Linked DNA regions of Homo sapiens: all the other regions are linked to region 1. Evidence: promoter capture Hi-C in 16 types of primary human blood cells and fetal thymus (Javierre and others, 2016). All regions are on one chromosome and are shown on one strand. The core of a region is centred on a gene start or on the middle of the fragment in contact, and the rest is flanking DNA. Distances in the headings are between cores, read along the strand shown.

What was found. The method cuts DNA at HindIII sites, captures the fragments that hold promoters and counts their contacts. A CHiCAGO score of 5 or more calls a contact.
Region 2: a fragment that was not itself captured here is called in contact with the fragment with the promoter of CDH20 in region 1 in 1 of 17 cell types (endothelial precursors); the score reaches 5.4 in endothelial precursors.
Region 3: a contact is called between a fragment that was not itself captured here and the fragment with the promoter of CDH20 in region 1, in 1 of 17 cell types (endothelial precursors). The highest score is 7.2, in endothelial precursors.
Region 4: a contact is called between a fragment that was not itself captured here and the fragment with the promoter of CDH20 in region 1, in 1 of 17 cell types (endothelial precursors). The highest score is 8.4, in endothelial precursors.

The regions. Positions count from the first base shown.
Region 1 is chr18:61,331,892-61,335,481 of GRCh38, reverse strand. It overlaps CDH20 (cadherin 20), which reads right to left and starts at 2,052. Exons shown (of 12, transcript NM_031891.4): 1 at 1,655-2,052. The HindIII fragment of the contact is 13,774 bases long and covers 1-3,590 here.
Region 2 is chr18:60,672,001-60,675,590 of GRCh38, reverse strand. It overlaps the pseudogene LOC100420948. Among named protein-coding and RNA genes, the nearest start is that of MC4R, 300 kb to the right of the region's middle. The HindIII fragment of the contact is 514 bases long and covers 1,786-2,299 here.
Region 3 is chr18:60,689,962-60,693,551 of GRCh38, reverse strand. No RefSeq gene overlaps it. Among named protein-coding and RNA genes, the nearest start is that of MC4R, 320 kb to the right of the region's middle. The HindIII fragment of the contact is 4,371 bases long and covers 1-3,590 here.
Region 4 is chr18:60,807,372-60,810,961 of GRCh38, reverse strand. No RefSeq gene overlaps it. Among named protein-coding and RNA genes, the nearest start is that of MC4R, 440 kb to the right of the region's middle. The HindIII fragment of the contact is 511 bases long and covers 1,474-1,984 here.

The sequences.
Region 1 (3,590 bases), core at 803-3,302:
GGCAGGAAGGGATGTGGCCAGCGTGGAGGCTTGACCTCATCTCCTGCACTCAGCTTAACTCTGCCATACTGTTCTCCCACACCCTCGCCCAGCTTTCTGCTGCATCAGCTGCCCAAGCCTGCACCCTGGGCAACATCTGAACAGGGTCAAGCCAAGAGTTGGCAACCACAGGTGCCCTTACGGATTCCTCCAGTGTCAGGACCTGAATCCTTTCAGCATGTCCAACGAGACTGCAAGGGTGACACTAAAGGGAAAAGATTTTCCCAGGTTATATAAATAAATGAAAGGGAAACGCTGGGTCAACTCTCAAGATGGCTATGCCTTCAGGGTTCCCCAGCCAGAGGCGGCTGAGGAAGGTGAGCAGATAGGAACATAATACTCATCTATAAGCGTGGGTTCAAACTCATCCTAGTTTCAACTTTTTGTTGTTCTTAGGTAGATCCAATTCCTTAGCTGAGTCCCTGACAGCACCACAGCTCTGAGTGGGTAATTTCCTTTGGTGGAAAGACACACATCAGAGACTGGAGGAGGTCCGGGGACATTTCATTTGAGGGGAGGCGGCTGCAGGTTCAATTTGCAGGCGATTTATAACAATCAGAAAAAAAATTGTTCCTGGTGCTCGTGCCAATAACAAGAGCATTAATAATAATAGCAACAACATAGTAAACTCTGAATCTACCAGGCGACCAACTCCCCGATTGTCTGGTACTATCCCCTCTCACTTCCAGCCTGGTCTCGGCAGAAACAAACAAAACAAAACAAGGCTCTGACGCTGCCTCCGGGCTGCCTTCCAGATTTCAGCCCCCACTGCTGCCCCAGAGGCGGATAGCTAGGCAAAGGCTGCTGCAGTCTCTCCGATTGCTAAGGACACGTTGAGAGTCCTCGGTAACGTTCTCTTTGCAAATCTGAAACTTTAGCCCCATTTGACCCCCTTGCCCCCGGCTCTTCCCCCAGAGTAACTACAACAAGCAAAAACCAAACAGCGAGCGCAATTCAGAGCTTTCCTTGGGAGTGTCAGGGCCCGAGGACAGGAAATCCGGGGAGTTGGCGAAGTCCGGCAGGTGGCGGGGACTCGAGTACCCACCACATTCTCCTCCCACAGCCGAGCTCCGGCGGGGGCGCGGCGCGAGGCACGGACCAGGGATCGGCCCCGTAGGTGCCTGCGCCTCCCCGGAGCCTGGCTCTCTGGTCCCCTTCCCGGCGCACATCTCTGTGCGAGGGACGCGGCCACCCTGTCCCCTCTGCAGGCGGAGGGAGGCGCCACCGCCTGCGGGGCCAGCGAGGGTGAAGCCGTGCCAAGCGCCCCCACAAGCCGCGCTCCTGGATCCCCAGTCACCATCCCCAGGCGCGCGCAGTCCCCGCTCCCAGCGCGCCACGTCCTCCACCTGCCCCGGTGCGCCCCAGCTTCCCTGCTTCCAGAGAGCAGCTCCCCCAGTCCCGGCAGCCCATTTCCAACCCCTTCTCCCACTAAGTCCGAGGAAGTCGAACTCGGAGCGGCCGGTAGGCTCGTCGAGGTGGCAGGGAGTTGCTGGGAGAGCACAGCGCGGAGAGGGACCGCGCACGCCGCCCGGGGATTTCGCCCCAGAGGGCTGGCTCCGCGCGCCCGGAGTCCCAAGCCCCAGAAGCGGGGCCCGACCCGAGCCCTCTGCGTTACCTGGCACCGCCGGCGACTCTCCGGAGACCTTCGGTCCTAACTGCTCCAGGGCGGGCGTTCTGCTCACGTAGCTGCCTCCCCCACTGGGCGGCTGGTGCCCCGCTGGGTCTCTTCACCCCTGCTCGCGGCGCTGTCCCCGCCCCCCACCCCCCTACCCCCTCTGTCAGAAGTGTCACAGCTTTTCTGCCTTCGGATGTTTCGCAAAGTCTCCGTGCGGTTGCCAGGAGTTGGGGGGTACTGCCAAGTGCACCAACCCCGCCGATGCCCTGCCCTGCCCTCCCGCGGCCACCGCGTTCGGCCTGTCCAGTGAGAAGAGCCCCCTGGTCGCGGTCACCGTCCCCCGAGCGTGGCGCGCGGTCCGCTTCCCCTCCCTCGCGCCTTCCCTAGCAGGAGTGGCTGCTGCCTGCCTGTACCGCGGGTCCTCATTCCCCTGCTCATGAATATTCTGACAGAGGCTAATGCCGCTGAAGTAAATTGAATTAGCCAATTGGTGCCAGGAATGTGCGCTCCTTCCTTCTGAGGAGCTGTCTGGAACCCCACCAGATGAAAGCAATTAACGTCCGGTTGGCACCCTGTGGTTTAGACCAGTGAGGGGCAAAATGGGTTAATTCTTTAAATGCAGTTTAGATACCGCATTTAAATGTTTCAACTCCTCTATTGGCTGAGAGCGTAAGGAAATGTTAAGAGGGAGAGAGAAGAAAGGGGATGTGTGGACGTGGGGAGGGGGGCGGGGGTATTTACATCTAAACTTTCCCCTGAAGTTGAGGTAATTATTTTGCACAGATTCTGGAAGAGGCAATTGAGGAGTAGAACAGGATAAGGCAAATAAAATCAGAAAGGAAATGAGTACCAACTCGGGTTTAACCTTGACCTTGAGGGTGCAAAAGACATTGTTTTCAAGAGGAGAGGTAGGGGAAGATGGCATGTGTGAGGGAAACCTCACTCATCGACTTTTAAGAATTTCTTCAAATGCTCAGATTTCCTTTTCTTTTTGTCCTCATAGGAAAATCTTAGAGTTTTAAGCCTTTAACTAGAGATGGGGTGGAGGTATATTAAGGGTCAGAAATTTCTGAGGTGGAAGCTGAGACCACCCTTCTCTCCCAGATGAAGGGGGTCCCCCAAATCACACAATACTGTGACAGGCCCATTCCAGAAGGCAATTCCAGCTCTTATTTCTGAGGTCAGAATACACAAGGTCAAAAGGAGAGATCACCTCTCTCCTGTCCTGATTCCTACCCTAGAATGTCAAGTTACTGACGACAACTTGGGTTTCACAGTGGCTGGAGGGGGACTTTTTGCCCGATGTGGTTTCTACATTTCTCTTCAAGCAAGGTGCTTGGAGGATTTCCTCCCCCATCACTGATTGTAATAGAGCAAGTTATTTTGATTGAATTGATAGGTTACTAAATAATCTATTTGTACAACTGCTCTGTGGCCAAATGATCAATGTGTGTAAAGAACTGATAAAATGATATATATAAACATCCAATAAGATTCCCAAGTGTGTGACAATAGAAATAGTATCCCAGTTAAGGCAGTCATGCCATATTTTAATAGCTTTCAGCAGGCCTAGAATTAGAACTCATAGTTATAACAATGATTATTAATAGCAGAATAGCTAATGTTTATGGAGAACTTGTTATGTGACAGACATGTGTTACACATGTTATTTCATTTCATTTTTCCAACAACTCTATTCAGTCTAGACTATTATTTCTCTATTTTAATAGATGATGCAGATGTGGCTCAATAAAGTAAGGGCAGTTGACCCTTGAACAACATGGGGGTTAGGAGCACTGACCCTCGTGTAGTCAAAAATCCGCATATAACTTTTCACTCCAAAAACTTAACTACTAATAGCCTACTGTTGTCTGGAAACTTTATGGATAACATAAGCAGTCGACTAACACATATTTTATATGCTATACATTTTATA
Region 2 (3,590 bases), core at 793-3,292, 660 kb after region 1:
ATGTAATTAGTATTGATATAAAATAATCTATATACCTTATTTGTATTTTACCACTTTCCTCATAATGTCCATTTTTTGTACTTTTTCAATGCAGGATCATTGCACGTGGGTATCTTCTTGCTCTCCTCCAATACTGGACAGGCATTCAGTCTTCTGTTGTTTTTCATGTCCTTGGTTTGTTTGGAGAATACTACTCGGTTATTAAGTGCTTCCCAATTTGGGTTTGCCTGATGTTTTCTCATGATAAGATTGAGGTTATAAACATTTGGCAGGAATACCACAGCAACGAGAATATACCTTTCCAGTGAATCATATTATATTGTTGATATGTCCTATTGCTGCAATATTAACTTTGATCCCATCACTAAGGTGGCATCTGCCAGGTTTCTTCACAGCAAAGTAACACATGAGAAATACTTTGAGACCACGAAATATCCTGTTTTTCATCATACTTTTGTCCACTAATTTTAGTATCCATTGTTGTTACCTGCAACAACTATTATTTTGGTGTTTGTTTAATGATGACTTTATAGTTCCCTCATTTTTTCTAATGTAAGTAAAGTCCTTTTTCCCCATTTAATTATTCACTTATATCAGAAGGGACTCATGGGGGTTTATCTTATTTTACAGGTTATAATCTAATACTACCAATGTTTATTTTGTTACCCAGACTGTCTCAGCTTTGGCCATTGGGAAGTCCTTCCAGTGGATTATTGGATCCTGTGCCCTTTTGACATGCTTTCTTCCCTTATTAATTTTTTGTTTGTTTTGGGTCTTACTTCCGGGTTTTCTGTCATCACAAGTTGTTCCAGGCTTGTATTGTACATTTCCTCTTCAAGCCCTAAAACCAGCCATTTCTCTAAGCATTCATCGTTCCTTTTATTGGAGACTGGTATTTAAAATCAAGCTTTGAGTACTAGGTATACCTTGTGCTATTAAGCTATCATTGTTTCTAGGAAGACAGAGCTAGGAAATATATTTGTGAGCACTTTTAAGTGAAATATTCAAAAAACTTGTACCATTCATGTAGAAAAGGCAATAATATGAGATATAAAAGCAAGTCATAGTCTCCTGTGCATGCAGGTCCACGGAGGCTGCAATGTCAAAATGCTATTACTACAGATTATTTTCAGATGCTCTGCTACAGATATCAGAGAAATTTAAGCAAAGTGATGTGCAAGGAACATATGTTAGTATGAAGTAAACTGAATCCCCTTTTTTATTTTTATTTTTTATTTTACTTTAAGTTCTCGGATACGCGTGCAGAATGTGCAGGTTTATCACATAGGTTTACATGTGCCATGGTGGTTTGCTGCACCTATCAACCCATCATCTAGGTTTTAAGCCCCACTTGCATTAGGTATTTGTCCTAATGCTCTCCCTCCGCTTGCCTCTTACCCCATGGTAGGCCTCAGTGTGTGATGTTCCCCTCCCTGTGTCCATGTGTTCCAACTGTTTAATTCCCACTCCTTTTCGAAGCAGGTGTTCAGCTCTACACCAGTGAATTTCATAAAATTTCCTCTACTCATCACAGGAATTTCAAGGACTGTCAGAGATGATATTCTTTTAATTTATTTAGATGTAGGAAAATGCTTTTTGAAAAGTTAAATTTGCCTCCTTCATGGGAAAAATAAATGTGGAAAAATTTGAGAATTTGTAGAAGTTAAGTTCAGATCTATTTAACAGACACAAAAGATTGCAAAAAAAAATTACCTGTAATTAAGGTAGAGGTTGCCATTTTCTCAGGGCAAAATATGGAAAACAGATTGTACCTCATTTAAAGCTTTGTCCAGTATATATGCAGATAATTAATGAAAGTGTACGTATTGACCTGGAGAATGCCAGAGAAGAAAATGTGTTTCAGATGCAAGAACTATATATAAGGTTCAGATAATTAACAAATCTGAAGAAGAAAACCAAATTTGCTCCTCACTCTGATAAATGAAAAATGAACTAATGAATGGAAGCTAACCAAAGAATGAAAGAAATATCTACTGTTCAAACACACTAGTAATAGTAAGAATGGGTAGAGTCCATGATAGCCACAGTCTCCTGATGCCAACTGGAAGGATCTCTAGAAAGGCTTTGAGAAGGGTTGGATGATAGGATGTTTATGCATGGCTCTCTCTGTAAGGGCTTTAATGAACAAAAAGGTGAGCACCACAGACCAAAGAGACTCTGAGAGAGTTGGTGGAATGGGAGTAGAGATCACTGATTATAAGAATGTTGGATAATTTGTGGGTCAAACTAAGTCCTAAATTTAGTTGAAACTGAGGTAATCATACAAACTTTTTAAGCTTATGTGTCAAATGACAGAAAATTATACATATACCACATACGTTAATGTTGCATTTGGAGTGTTTGAGTTTTCATGGTTTTTAGATATGCCAATAGTCAGCAGTCAGCTTACCATCATTCTGAATAAATGCCAACAGGCAGAGTGGCTGGAAACAATGCCCAACTTTGGAGTAAATTTAATCTTGACACAATTGAGTGGGAGAGTGCTAAACTATTTTTTAATTATCATTTCAACCTAAATATCAATCAGAATTTTGAATACAACCTAGCCGTTATTTTCATGGCTTATCTTCAAGCTATTATTAGAAACCTACAAGCATTTAAACCTACATCACATTTCTTATTTTTTTATTTTTTATGTTAATCTAAATAATAAACTTACTTTCATATATAATGTACATATTTCATATGTTAATACATAAGGTAAAGTGGTTTTGTGGAAGTTGATTAAACCTAGATTTGCAATGTATATGAAGTAGCAGAATTTTCTCCTTTTATTTAGAGAGTAACCTACCACCTGCTCTTAAAACATCAACTGCCTTACACAATATCAACACATTGTTTTTTTAAATTTTTTCTCTAATACAATATTTTATTTCAATAAAATGCACTTTTGAAATTTTAATATGTTTTACAGCACTTGAGACATTAAATGAACACAGCTTTTAATAGCTGGTTATATGGAATTGACTATTGGAAATTTAAAGAATAGCCTATATCAAGTTGTAGTTAATATTTTTATTCTCACAAACATTCTTTTACTATTTGTACAAAATGACTGGTAGAACTGTCATTTTCATCCAAACAGAATCAATTGTCCTCTTTATGTAGTAATTGTCCACTAGCTTGTTCAACACAGTTCTCAAAGTCAATTTGTCAGTTTTGTGACCCTGAGAATAGAACTCAGTATGGATGAAAAGAGAATATTTTGGTTTTATTTATTTAAATAGATGGTTACATCATTGTAACTGATTTAAGGAAATATCATGTTCTTAAATTCATATTGTTTTCAAGTATGATTTCATGAACTGCTTAGGTATTTATTGGAAGATATTAAAATCTTAAAGTTTTATATTTAAGATAGGTATATATTTTCTATGGATTAGCGGTTTTATATCTAGAGTCTTTATACTTAAGCATTCTGTAACAAAACATTAATAATTATTTTTTAAAGATTTTAAACAGAAAACTTTCTTAAGAACAATTTAGCCACATTTTATTCATGATGATTAGGTAACAAACAAATGAGTCTACAAAAAGTGGTCATAGAAAGATGTATCTAAGTTAAGGTA
Region 3 (3,590 bases), core at 710-3,209, 640 kb after region 1:
TAACATCCCATAGGAACAGGTCTCACGCCATGACTAACGGAAATTGGTGATATATATCCCAGTTCCTTTGCCCCTTGGGCAGGCTAACTCAGAGGCACATGTTCTACTCTGCCTCCAGAGTTCTCAAGTTGTAGCTGGCTTAGCATGTCATTGTTATTGATCCTTTTCTCTCAATCATTTCCTTACTCTCCTACCAGCATTTCCTTACTCTCCTACCAGCATTTCCTAGCACCATGTCCCAAATAATGAATGTGTCCTGAAAATCTGAAGTTTTTACTCTCCTGTCATTAGAGTAACTGGACAATCAACAACTTTCTTTTTTGTTCTTGTTGTTGTTGTTGTTGTTTCGAGACAGTCTCGCTCTGTCGCCCAGGCTGGAGTGCAGTGGTGCGATCTCGGCTCACTGCAAGCTCCGCCTCCCGGGTTCAGGCCATTCTCCTGCCTCAGCCTCCTGAGTAGCTGGGACTACAGGCGCCCGCCACCACCCCCAGCTCACTTTTTTGTGTTTTTAATAGAGACGGGGTTTCACCATGTTAGCCAGGATGGCCTTGATCTCCTGACCTCGTGCTCCACCGGCCTCGGCCTCCCAAAGTGCTGGGATTACAGGCGTAAGCCACCGCGCCCGGCCCAATCAACAACTTTCATATCCTACTCTGTTTAGTACTGATCCAAGAATGATGTCTGTAAATCGTTTTAGGAAAATGTTCTCAGATTTCTTAGTCATCAGAGAAAATTAGACAAAACTAAAGAGGATACCAGGTTTTAGAAATTCTATTATTTGATAATGTACCAATGTTTTCAAAACATAAACCAAGGGTATTAAACGAGGTATGTTGCTGAATCTGCTGTCATTTGAGGACCAATCAAGTGGAGAAATATACCAATTAGAGTTCAGAAAAAAATTATTTATAATTTGATAAATGAAAATAATATCTCATTTAAAATTATTTTATTAATAAGAAGACTAAGCATCTTACCTTATGTATGTGTGTCTCGGCTGAATCCTCTTTCTTAACCACCCTTTAATCGGGGCAGGCCGGTAGAGGAGGAGGCTTTCAAGTCAGGTCTAGTTTCAGCTTCCTCTAGGGGCTCTCACTCACTGGTCTTGTGACCTGAGGCACTTAACCTCTTCAAATCAGTTTCCTTACTCATAAAACTGAGACACTAATATCAACTAAACATTAAAATGTAGGTAATACGTCTAAAGCACTGAGCCCACTGACATATGATAAACATTCAGAAAATAGTAGATATGTTCAAATTATGCCCCCTTAAGGCATTTTACACTAACTTAAAAAAAAACCACTATCATTTATTTACTACATAATGAGCTCACATACAATTAACCATCTATGTTTTATTCATATTTACTGTGTTTATCAAACATGAGTGTCATGGAGAACGCTTATGTACATGTAATCAAATTGGCCTATTTTATCCTTTCATCTAACATTTCTAAACTTATTTTTTTCTCTCATCCTCTGAGGTTAGATAAATGTTTAAACCATTTAATAACAAATATTTTGAATTAATATTTTCTTCTGAGGTTATTACCTCATTTTGGAGGAAAAAAAAACACAAATTATCCAATGAGCTTCTCCTTATATATCTTAACAAATATTTTTATTTGCAAATATTCCCTTTCTGTGCTTAAGAGTCTGTAGGAAACACAACTACATTTCTCTGATACAAATTTGTGGAATTCATATTTTCTTGCTGGGGCAAAAGGACTCCCTATAGACTGACTCCACCTCGTGTTTGAACCTCACTTTTCCTTAAGCCTGTCACCAAGCAGGGCAGTCTCACTTCTGTTCTTCTTCCGTCATTTTTCGTCCACTTGCATTTCAAGCCTTTGTTTGCTCTGTACACCGTTATAGATTTTGATCTCTTTCATACTCCTAAATTAGATTTATTTCAATGTCTTGCATATGATAGTTTGTTTCCATGAAAAGATTACTGACTAGTAGAGCCAATATTAAACTTTTATTAATGCCTTTGTCACTCAAGCAAAATTCCGGTAGGCGGAACTCTAAGATAGCCCCCAAGTTGCCTGCTATCCATATAATCCTCTCCCCTGAGTGCAAATAGAAGCTGTAAATATGATGGAAATTTAATCCCTTGATGATAGTATGTAATATGGCAAAATAGACTTTTCAGATAACTTTAAAGTTCCTAATCTGTTGGCTTTGAGTTCTCAAAAGATAAATTATCTTGGATGAGACCTAATCAGGTGAGCCCTTAAAAGATACAAGATGCAGCAGCAGACACTCCTGCTGGCCTGGAAGAAAGCAGACAATGATGTTGTGAACTGCTTCTGGATGACACTACAGGGGTGTCCTTGAGTCTTTCTACTGGCCATCCTGCTCATAGCCAGCAAAACAAACAAACAAAAAACCCAGGTACATTAGTTCTGCACCACAAGGAACTAAATTCAGTCAACAATCTGAAAGAGCTTGGGAGAAAACACTGAATTCCAGAACAGAACACAGCCCTAGCCAAAACCTTGATTTCAGCTTTTAAAATCCTAAGCAGGCTGGGCACAGTGGCTCATGCCTGTAATACCAGCACTTTGGGAGGCGGAGCTGGGCGGATCACCTGAGGTCAAGAGTTCAAGACCAGCCTGGCCAATATGGTGAAACCCTGTTTCTACTAAAACTACAAAAATTAGCCAGACATGGTGGCACATGCCTGTAGTCCCAGCTACTTAGGAGGCTGAAGCAGGAGAATCGCTTGAACTCAGGAGACGGAGGTTGCAGTTAGCCGATATCGCACCACTGCACTCCAGCCTAGACGACAGAGAGAGAGACTCTGTAAAATCCTAAGCAGAGGCCTTATCTTTGCTGTGCCTGGACTTGACCTGCAGAAGCTGTAAGATGGTAAATGGTGGTGGTTTTAAGTTCCTAAATTTGTGGTAATGCAGCAATAGAAAATGAATACATCCTATATTATTCTCTGGCTCACGTAAAACTGTAGTCTTTCTCTAGGTCTTTTTTGTTTTGCTCTGATGCACTTATGAAGACATGCTCATTTCAATACTCTGTGTAAATTTCAGAAAATTTGCACAGAAAATAAGGCAGAATAATTTGGAACATGAACGTACCTCAGAGTTAAAAAATATATACATATATCAAATTGTAAGACTTACAGCCAACTTCTAGTGTTGAATCACAATTTGGTGAAATGAGGTAATAACAATAGTAAAGATAGCAATAAAATTATTATTGACAAACAGCTCACACTTAAAATGTGGTGCACTTAATATGTAAAAATTTTAAACTTCATAATTTTTTAATTTTCCTGTTTCAACAGATGAGAAAATACCCTTAGAAAAATTGAGTGACTTGCCAAAATTCACAGTCACGAAGTGGTGGAATTGGGTATGAAAGAAGGCTGCCTAACTCCACAGACAGAGTTTTCATCAATGCCTTCACATTTTGTGAACAAAAACAAACAAATAAAATCAAAGGTCATTTTTAAAAGGATGACTATTACATTTGGGATATACAGAGTGAAGATCATCCAAGAACAACCAAATTCAATAGTCTTTAATATTTGAGAACATGATGCATTAAGATTCAGACCAAACTCAA
Region 4 (3,590 bases), core at 480-2,979, 520 kb after region 1:
TCAGTATTCAATAATAAAAAGGTTTGCTCCTACTTTCAAAAGGATATCTTTGCATTAAAGTTTCCTTACAAGTGGCTGAAGGACTAGCTAGACAGAAAGTTGCTATTTGGAACTTGGTCCTGAATGAGCACACAGTGTAACTCCATTTATGGCCACTTAGCTCGTTAACAGTCTCATGGCTAGAGTACCCAGAACCATTCTATATCTCACCGAGCCTTGGATGACCAGAATCCATAAGTTAAATGTGGGCAGGGACACATAACACAAATGGGTCAGTGCTACTATTCAGAGCTTGGGGTTATGCTGCGGATGGTTTGTCATCTTACATGAAGGACGAGATCTGAGTTTGTAATATTATAGGCCCCCTGATTCCAACACAAGCAGAGATGCTCAATTATTCCAGGCACTGCGCTAGACACTTTGCCTAAAGCAATTATCATCATCACAATAATCCTCTGATGAGGACTTTATTATTCTCCATTTAGATATGAGGACACTGATCTTCATAGTTAATGAATGAGCCAAACTATTGAGATTTTTTTTTTAAATTTAGGATTACTTAAATCCAGTGTTTGGTATCTTCCTACTAACCCAGTCTTTCTTAAAGCATTTAGGGTTTCAAATGAAATAGATCTATCCCCGTTATGTTTCAAAGACAACATGTTAGTGGGTAAATTGATGGTTCTGTGATTGCTTCAGTAGTTCCTAACTAAGGGCTGGGATTGCCACATGAATGAGCAGGTTAGCTTGATAGGCTCAGTGGGAAGGTCTCTCTGCACAGGTGTGCAGCCTTTGAGAAGTGCAGAGACAAGCTCCTTGCTGTTATTACGCAATGTGTTATTTCAGGACAAATTTATGCTTCTCCTAGGGAGCCTTCTAGAGTAATAATCTCTGACAAATGGTGATCCTGCTATACCTAGTCTCCCTGAATAGCTCCACCTGAATTTATTTTGCATGTAAATTACAGTGCTCATGTTAAAGAATCCCATAGATGTAGCTTTATTTCTACTTGTTAAGACCAAAAAGAAAAATGTAATGATTTGTTAAGATCATCTTTCAATCATTCTGCACTTTCTCCCAAGTGTTAATTTTCTTGCAAGTAGAAATAAGGAACTTGGGCTTCCCTTCCATTAAAAAAAAAAAAAATACCATTGTGAAAGTTTATGTGACCAGGTCCTGCAAACAACCAGAGACAAATATAAGCAGGTGTGCATATCATATCAAAATACTGCATTTTCCTTTTCTTGCATTTTTAAACATTAGTCGCAACTTTGTTTTGTTTTAATTTAGTGGAAAATAAATGTAATCGCTGTAATTTCATGTATAATTATTAGTAAAATGCCACTTTTACCTTTTCCATGGTCCTCATTTATTGTCCCCATTCTCTCTGTAAGCAGAATCTCCCCCAGGTGCTTCAAATTTTCAATGCTCAATTCCAGATTGATATTCTTTCCTCTACCATTAACTAAAGCTTTATCTGTGAAATGATTATTTTGTCCCATTTTTTCTTGATTAAAACAAACCAAAAGATGAAATTAAGAGAGAAGTAAGTAGAATAAAGCTCTCTTTATTACCTTTACCTTCTTCTAAATTGTTCATTGAGTAGCTTGTGAGGAGAGGTCATTAAAAGCATCATTAGTTGAAAAACACAGGCTTGTCTTTCCACATCCCCTACAGTTATATATCACACACTTCTTCTATAATTAGAATAATGCCAGCACTTTATAAATGGTCACTGACTGGTCTTGATTTATTAAAAGTCTAGACAAGTAAATGCACAAGATAGCCCTTTACACAGGGAGTATCTAAGTTTCCCTTGCTATATATTCAGACATCTAAAAGTTGTCCAGAATGTGCTACCATATCATCCTTTATTCTTAGGAAAATTCATTGTTTGTCCTGGTGAAAGTCAGTTTTACTTTTCTAGTCTTGTTTTGTTGGTTATATAAAGAATGGAGTAATTTTCAGCATCTATTCAAAAGCTTAATTATTTATAAAATTAAATAGTTTTTAAAATGAAAGTAAAATAATGTTATTTTATATTTAGTACTTTTGGAAGGTCCAGAAGGATATGTTCTGCTTAGTTAACCACATTGTGTTTTTTCTTTTGGAAATGCAAAGAAAGTATCTAATAATTTAAATATATATATATATATATATATATATATATATATATATATATATATATAATTTCTCTCATTTCTTCTTTTTAGCAGGGATCTACTTGTCTCTACCCAGAAATACAGATATAAAGTCAATGGAAGAGATAGATAGATAGATAGATAGATAGATAGATAGAAAGACAGACAGACAAAAAGATAGATGGATAGCTATTATTAACCTTTTATGACATTGAAAGAATGCATGCTGCCCTCTGGAGTCCACAAAAGGAAAATGCAAACCAAGTTTTTCTATCATCTTTAATATTTAAAATGTTTAATGCTACAAGTTGGAAAATAAACTGTATCTTTTACCTTTGCAATAAATAACATATAAGTAGCGCGACTAACAGGGAAGGGTTATGTTGAATCCTTAATTTGACCTTATGACGCATGTTTTCATGAAGTAATGAGGATTTTTCCCCTTACAATTTACTCACTATGTCTTTCCCAGTTACCAAAGGGCACAGAAATAAGTGTTAATGAAGAGAAAAATAGAGGATGAGATTAACAAAAAACAAATTAATCTTTGTGCCTACTTAATATCTTTTTGAAATATATATTACTTTGCACTTCAGATCATACTTTAAACTTTCTTATATAACATGTATGCCAAGTTTATGAAGTGAAAAATGTGGTTAAGAAAGATGATAATTAAAGAAAAGCTGTGAACATGGAATTGGGAATATATTCTTTCTATAGTAAGGCAACTTTTCTCTTATGAAAGTTAAAATAACACAGTGAAAGAGAAAGCCTTTGCTGCTACCTACTGAAGTGTGTGTGTGTGTATGTAGTGAGATAGATAGATGATAGATATATAGATAAATAGATAAATATGATCTCAGGCTTAGAACATAAGAGGTTGATTAATCATAAAAATGCAAGAGTTTCTATTTCGAGTATTCACAAGACTTAAGAAGTAGTCATTAGGAACCCAGATATTTGGAAAATTTCTTCCTGGAAAGGCTCTTCCTTCTTAAAATTAACATTTTTAATAACACTTCAAGGTTCATTTAAAATTTAAGTCCAAGAAAAGCTGTTCTCTACTTCAATACATTTTAGGAACTTACTATACTTTTTGCTGTGTCAACATCTCTAAACAATTCTACAATGTTTTTCAGAGTGTCACCTATTCAGAAAGGTTTTATTTTAACATATACACAATTAGATTGACTTTTACATCACGCTTCTAATGTAAGATTATTTACCTTCTTTTATGCATAATATGGTGAGAATCATTCAGGTTATTTGACTTATTTCTTAGCAAGAACATGATGCAGCCTGGATTAAAAATACAAATGGATGACTTCAAATTGCTTCTCTTTTTACTTAGCAAACTTTAAGTCAAATATATATAATCTGTATGGACACAAAATATAAAATAAGTTCAAGAATAAATTCTCTACAAAGTCATGCTGATAAACAATGTAT